Linked DNA regions of Homo sapiens: region 2 is linked to region 1. Evidence: promoter capture Hi-C in 16 types of primary human blood cells and fetal thymus (Javierre and others, 2016). All regions are on one chromosome and are shown on one strand. Each heading gives the region's core, a stretch centred on a gene start or on the middle of the fragment in contact. The rest is flanking DNA. Distances are from core to core; before and after follow the strand shown.

Region 1 (3,562 bases), core at 857-3,356:
GCCTGTCCCTTGTTTGCCGTGGTGTTGCAGTTCATTTTGTACATGAAATATGTTACCTGCCACTGAATCAGGGAAAGACGCAGAAACCAAAACCACCCCCTATATAATTACGAGGTCAGAATTGTGAGCATCGGTCGTGATTTCTTTCAGCACAAGTCGATATATTTTGAGGAGAGGGGAGGGAACTTGATCCAAGTTTACAGGTGTATCCCAGAACGCACTTTTAGGACAGTCATTGCGTGTTTTGGTAGCACTTCGTTTGCCTGGCATCTTAAGGGACCTAATTTGTCTACACATGTGAATTTTTGACCTCTTTGAAGCCTCTAGTGTATTGTAGGGTCTGCGTAAAGCACAAGGGATAGATGATTAAAAGTCTCGCCCTTAAGTTCCTCATCCTGTTGTCGTGAAAAATGATCTCAGTAAATATGCTGATATGCATTTTATGTGGGATCTGAGGGGCACTCTCGGGAATGGGGATAAAGGCAGTAAAGGAAAGGTAGATGCTTTATTCATGCTGACAAAACTGTACATTTGTAAATAAATAGGGCTTTTGTCCAGTTCATAATGTATATTACCGGTAGAAATACCATAAACGAAAATTGACCATGGCTAACACATCACACAAAACTTTTTAGTGACCAGAGTGATACAAAAACTTTGATGAAATCTAGATCTGCAAAATTTAACACAGGAGAATTAGCTATGGTAGAAGTAATAGCAACCAAAGGCAATTCAGAAGGCAGAGCTATAATTAATAAAATATGACATGATTAAATCTATTTAAATTGAATATTTTCTTTAAAATTTCGGTGAAAACAAAATGAAAGAAAATTGGAGCACTCCAAATGAGTAATAAAGTTGATCAAGGAATAAAACTGACCTAATGGAGTTTTCGTTCTCGACCCTAGTTATTCAATATTGGCATTTAAAAACCTTTTATCAGAACATCTCTAGAATCAGTAACATCGAAACGCACTGAGCTGCCTTAGGGCCTCATAAAGAGGTAAGCTTGAGAAGCTGTTTTCCAATAGATATAACCAAACATAACTGTAGTGGGAAAAACACTAGTATGAAAGGGACCTGGAATCAGTGGTTTTCTTGGTACTTGATAGGTTTTCCATTCCTAACACTCCTCTGAAAATAGGGGAAAAATTTACCTCACAGGGTCATATTATCTCATTAATTCTCAAAGTTTCTAAGCTCAGAATCAGAAAGATACAATGAAAAGTTGTGTGTAAACTTCAGAACTTTTTCACTTTAACCTCTACGCATGGGAATCTAAATGTCATATACTTCTTTGTCCCCTTAAAATGTTTTCCTAAACAAAGTATACCCTTTTCTTGATGCGCCAGGGTCATCATTATGACCAACTGTGACATTATGCACTAGCAATGCTGGACCCCCCCAAGGGTATGAGGCAGAGTCAGATGGTGCTGGTGCTGGTGTTTGAACATAATTAAGTCCAGCGGCCTCATTTCTTACAGTGCCTTTTCATTACTGGAGCTGAGAAGCCATAATCGAGATGGGTAGAATTATATATAAATGTACAAATGTATAAAAGAGTGTCTCTCCCTTTAAGTTTTAGGGTATTGACTTAGTGACATCTTTTCATACAATTAGTACTTTGGCCATGGTATATTTGAGGTAATTATGTTTTGCTGGCTCTGGAAACTTATATAAGAGTCACTTTTGCTTAAATAATTCCATCACCAGTTAGCCCTGTGGCATATATTATGCAACTTTAAAAATTTATCCCTAGACATTAGTATTTACAGATGAAACAATATAATGTCTTAAATTTGCTTCAAAATAATGCAAGGGGCAGAGGGATTGGAGGGGATTAGTGAATAGGATGAAGATGAAACAAGGTTCACTACATGCTGCAGATAATTGTCAAAGCAGTGACAGGTATGGGGTGAAGGGTAGGGAGGTGGGGTAATTATACTACTCTACTTTTTGTTATGGAAATTTCAAGCATATATGAAATTTAAAACAAACACACACACAAAATTATGTCCCAAATGAAGAGGCATTGGGTTCTGGTTTGGGGTCAAATTTGCTGTGACTCAGGGATTCACTTAAATTTCATTAAGCCTTTTGTTTTCTCATCTGTAAAATGAGGACTTAATGATTGTAAATACTGAAGTATTTCTAAGCATCTGGGCAACTGACTACATTTAATATCATGCAGATTTTTTAATCATTTGCTTTTTAGATAAAGATTGAATCAATGGTTTTTCTGAAATTTCATAATCTGTTTTCCATGAGTATAGTTCAGACTTAGGATAAAACCTTATTTCTAAGTTTCAGCAAAATGTTCTTATATGTTTACAAATAAATATCAAAATAGTGTTTTCTAATGGTTACTTCCAACATTTCTTCTAATACTGTCCACTTACAAATATTTAATTTGCTTACTTTAAAACTAAATTCATTAATATACCTAGTTTTAAATTAAGGCAAAATAGATTGCTTTCTAGAAACTTTAATAATTCAAAACACTGAGTACAATATTGTATTTCATACCATATAGCACAAAGATTAACACTTTTATATATCTGTTATTCTAGTTTTTAAATGAATAAAATGAAAAGTTTTCAATAACCTGAATTTTGGAAAAAACCTTTTAATTAGGAGTTTCTTACCAAGTTATGATTTAATATTTATCAGATGTGTAAATATACATGATAGCAATTTTTAAAACTTGTAAATAGTTGGCCTTACAAAATTACAACACACTGTAAATAAATCCTTCCCACATTTTATACAAACTACATGATTTTGATATACAAAGATTCTGTTTTTATTACACTGACAATGTACAACAAAGACTATTTACAATGCAAAAAGTATATAAACCACAATTTAACAGTCTGCTACTGGCAGCCACTATAGTTTAGGAGGTAGCTTTAATTAAACGAAATGAACAGAAGCCACATTTCCCAACTTGTGTTCTAAAAATAATTTACATAAGATAAAAATTCATTATATGCACAGTATGTACAGTTTAATTATTAAACTGCAATCTAGCTGGATTTTTTTAGTATATTCAGAATAACTAATATGGCAGTGGGTTTGCTATTGATTTAGCACACTGTTCAAAAAACATATTGAACAATTATAACTTTAAGACTCCACCCAGTAATAGGTCTAAAGCCCATAGATGGGAATCAAGTAAAATTTTTAATTTTTAAAGACACAGGACTAAGCTTTATTCTTTCTTCTTCTATTTTTATTAATAACATATTATCTTGTTTAACCAGAGTTCAACCTCTGAGCTATTGAATAGGCTCTTTTATAAAAAATAGTATGGGGAAGATGTATGGAAATTTCCATTTAATAGCACAGGTTCAAGATAATCCAGCTCACTAAGAAATAAACATAAGTACTTCGTGTCATAATTACTCCCCGTTTCGTCTAATTAAATGCAAGTATTGACCACAGTTTACTTTCTATATAATCCAAGCTATTGCTAGGTGACATCCCAGCAAATTGGAAAATATTAGTAGAGCCAACGATATTAGGAAGTATTCATTAATGAGAACATTACATGAAGCCACCA
Region 2 (3,349 bases), core at 114-2,613, 5.2 Mb after region 1:
TTTTGGCTATTGAAAATAAAGTGTTAACTTTTTGGAAACTGTCTCCTGAAAAAGCTAAACATAAATTTACTAAATAAGCCACTGATTCCTCTCATAGGTACATACCTAAGAGAAATATACGTACACACAAAATCTTGTGCACTAACGTTCATGGAAACATTATTCATAATAGCCAAAAAATGGAGACAACCCAAGTGTCCACCAACTGATGAACAAATCAACACAATGTGGTATATCCATAACAATGCAATATTATAAGCAATAAATAGGAATATAGGAGGGATACATGGACGAACCTTGAAAACATTATGCTAAATGAAGTAAGTCTGACTTAGGCCACCGTGTATTTTGTGATTCCACTTACATGAAATGTCCAGAAAAGGCAAATTCATAGAGACAAAATGTAGTGTTTGCCAGGGGCTGGAGAGAGGTGGGGCCGGGGGTCTGGGGAGTGATTGCTGATGGGTAGTTTCTTTTGTAGGTGATGAAAATGTTCTAAAATTAAATAGTAGTGATGGTTGTGCAACTCTGAAAATACTAAAAACTACTGAATTGTGTATTTATTTTATGAGACGGAGTCTCGCTCTGTCGCCCAGGCTGGAATGCAGTGGCATGATCTGGGCTTACTGCAACCTCCTTCTCCCAGGTTGAAGTGATTCTCCTGCCTCAGCCTCCCGAGTAGCTGGGATTACAGGCGCGCACCACTATGCCCCGGTAATTTTTGTATTTTTAGTAGAGACGGGGTTTTGCCATGTTGCCCAGGCTGGTCTCCAGTTCCTGACCCCAAGTGATCCGCCCACCTCGGCCTCCCACAGTGCTGGGATTACAGGCGTGAGATCCACTGCGCCCAGCCAAAGCTGCTATTTTTTAAAAGCGGCAATGAACATTCTTGTACAAGTCTTTGTACGGACATACAGTTTGGGTAGAAGAATAGCTGGGTCATATGCTGGGTGGATACTGAACTTTTTCAGAAACTGCCGCTCCTCTGCAAAGTGACTGCACCATTTTATGTTCCCAACAGCAGTACAGGAGAGTTTCAGGTCTACACAAACCCATCCATACTTGGTAAGACCCAACAAGCTTAACATTTCAAGGGAAGGTGGACTTAGGGAGGCGCCAGCGGGAGGCAACATCAATGCAGTTAGCTACACGGGCCTGAAAACTGGAGGCCGCGACAAGCGTCGCTGAGTGGAGGCCCAGTAAGTCCCACCCACTAGGCCAGCCCGAGCGCGTCTGCCACGCCCTGCTGCATTCCGCGGCGAGAGCGCGCGATAGGATTGGCTCTCAAGGCCCCGCCCCAACAGGTCGCCGCTCAGGGTGACCCGGAAGCAGTTGCGCCAGCAGCGTCGCGCGGCCCAGTTCCCTTTTCCGGTCGGCGTGGTCTTGCGAGTGGAGTGTCCGCTGTGCCCGGGCCTGCACCATGAGCGTCCCGGCCTTCATCGACATCAGTGAAGAAGATCAGGTGTGCTTCGGTCTACGGGTGCCGCCACGGTGGGGTGGGGGATGTCCTAGTAGCGCAAGGGACCGCTGCCGAGCCTGGGCCGGGCGGCCGGGGCTGACACCCGCAGCTGTTCTACACGCGAGAATGGGGAGGCCGGTGGCTGGGGCGCGCGTTCCTGGCCTCGATTCGCACCAGCTCGCCGGCCGGCGGTCCCAGCGCGGGGCCCGACGCTTCACCGCCAGCTCCCTGGTCGGCGTCGGGACTCATTTCTGACGACATAGTACTTTTAGACTGATGAGGAATGATGTCTGCTTCCGTCCGTCAAATGCAGCCACATTCGGAGTGGGAGGTGGTGAATCTGTAGTTAGCATAAGCAGGGTAGGGAAAAGTAATTTTGTGCTAAAGATCAAAATGCCGGGCCGGGCGCGGTGGCTCACGCCTTTAATCCCAGCACTTTGGGACGCCGAGGCGGGCAGATCACGAGGTCAGGAGATCGAGACCATCCTGGCTAACACGGTGAAACCCTGTCTCTATTAAAAATACAAAAAAATTACCCGGGCGCGGTGGCACGCGCCTGTAGTCCCAGCTACTGCCGAGGCTGAGGCAAGAGAATCGCTTGAACCCGCGAGGCGGAGTTTGCAGTGAGCCAAGATCGCGCCACTGCACTCCAGCCTGGGCGACAGAGCGAGAGTCCCTCTCAAAAAAAAAAAAAAAAAAAAAGATCAAAACGCCCGTATTACTGTGCGATCACAGGCGAAGACGACCCGTATTTTACACTTGCTTTCTATTCCTACTTGTATGAGGGTGAGAGTTGTTCTGTACCCCGGAAGTATGGTATCAGTTCAGCTCTTAAATTCTGTGAGGCATACACCTGATGGACCATCCTGATATTTTTAAATTTCCCGTTTGGCGTTTGCTCTTTGGTATACAGGGCTGATGGTTCTCATTTTCCCCATAACAAAAGTTTAACCTTATTTGGTAGGAGTTGAACACGACATCGTATTCTTTAAGTTAATTTTGTATTGCTGAAAATTCTTCTGTGAAGTCCTAACTTTGTCGTTTTATTTCTGTTACTCCACTAACACGGAAGTAACTTCCAAATGATTGGATATCATAAACTTCGCATGGAAGTTTACTTGTCTAAGACAACTTACAGAATTGCGGGAGTGAGTTCCCCCTCTCTCCTCCCCCCGCCCCATGGTAGGAATGCAGTTCCGATGCTCTGAAGAGCAAAGTAAGAAGGGAAAATGCAAAAGGCGGAGAAAAGGTCAAGGATGGGGAGGTTAAGCACAGATAGGAAGATATGAAAGACAAAAAGATACCTGATTAGAAATGGAAGCATGTTACCAACAGTTGGCTGTTAGGTTAACTGAGAAAGTGTTTGGAATTTTTTTTTTTTTAACATACAAAGTGAATGGAGGAAGTTCTTGTCATTGATCGTATCTTAAAGTGTCTTTTCTCAGGCTCTGCTTCTGTTCTTGTAACATCAGTATCGCTGTAGACAGTCCTTTCAGGGAAATATGAAATTGCTCAGGATTAGTTTAACTTTGGTGAAATTCTCAGCTTGATTAGAGTTAAATGGAATTCTTTATCTTTTTTTGTTTTCCTTTGCTTATGCTGCTTCCACAACCACTTGTGGCAGTGAGGATGACAGAAAAACAGCAAACGTGGTTCAATAGTTCTTAGAAAAAGTTTGCTGTGTATCTGTTTCCTCCATAGAGAAGCATGAAGCATGATTTCTGGAGGTATTTTTGTTTTCTCTGACATGGTGACAGTTTGTTTTCTTTTTTTAATTTTGCTTATAATACCAACTCTTCTATGAAGTTACTGTGTTCTTGTTACCTGAAAGGATAGTACCGTCAGATCTGCAGGTTTAATACTTTCCTGAGGCAACTAAATATACTTGGG

The links. The method cuts DNA at HindIII sites, captures the fragments that hold promoters and counts their contacts. A CHiCAGO score of 5 or more calls a contact.
Region 2: the fragment with the promoter of EIF3M here is called in contact with a fragment that was not itself captured in region 1 in 1 of 17 cell types (total CD8 T cells); the score reaches 6.6 in total CD8 T cells.

Annotation. Positions count from the first base shown.
Region 1 is chr11:27,363,492-27,367,053 of GRCh38, forward strand. It overlaps LGR4 (leucine rich repeat containing G protein-coupled receptor 4), which reads right to left. Exons shown (of 18, transcript NM_018490.5): 18 at 2,470-3,562. Among named protein-coding and RNA genes, the nearest start is that of CCDC34, 2.1 kb to the left of the region's middle. RefSeq lists an enhancer at 1-150. The HindIII fragment of the contact is 2,201 bases long and covers 1,007-3,207 here.
Region 2 is chr11:32,582,468-32,585,816 of GRCh38, forward strand. EIF3M (eukaryotic translation initiation factor 3 subunit M) reads left to right here and starts at 1,364. Exons shown (of 11, transcript NM_006360.6): 1 at 1,364-1,462. The coding sequence starts at 1,421. RefSeq lists enhancers at 1,075-1,727, 1,370-1,519 and a silencer at 1,150-1,209. The HindIII fragment of the contact is 5,112 bases long and covers 1,079-3,349 here.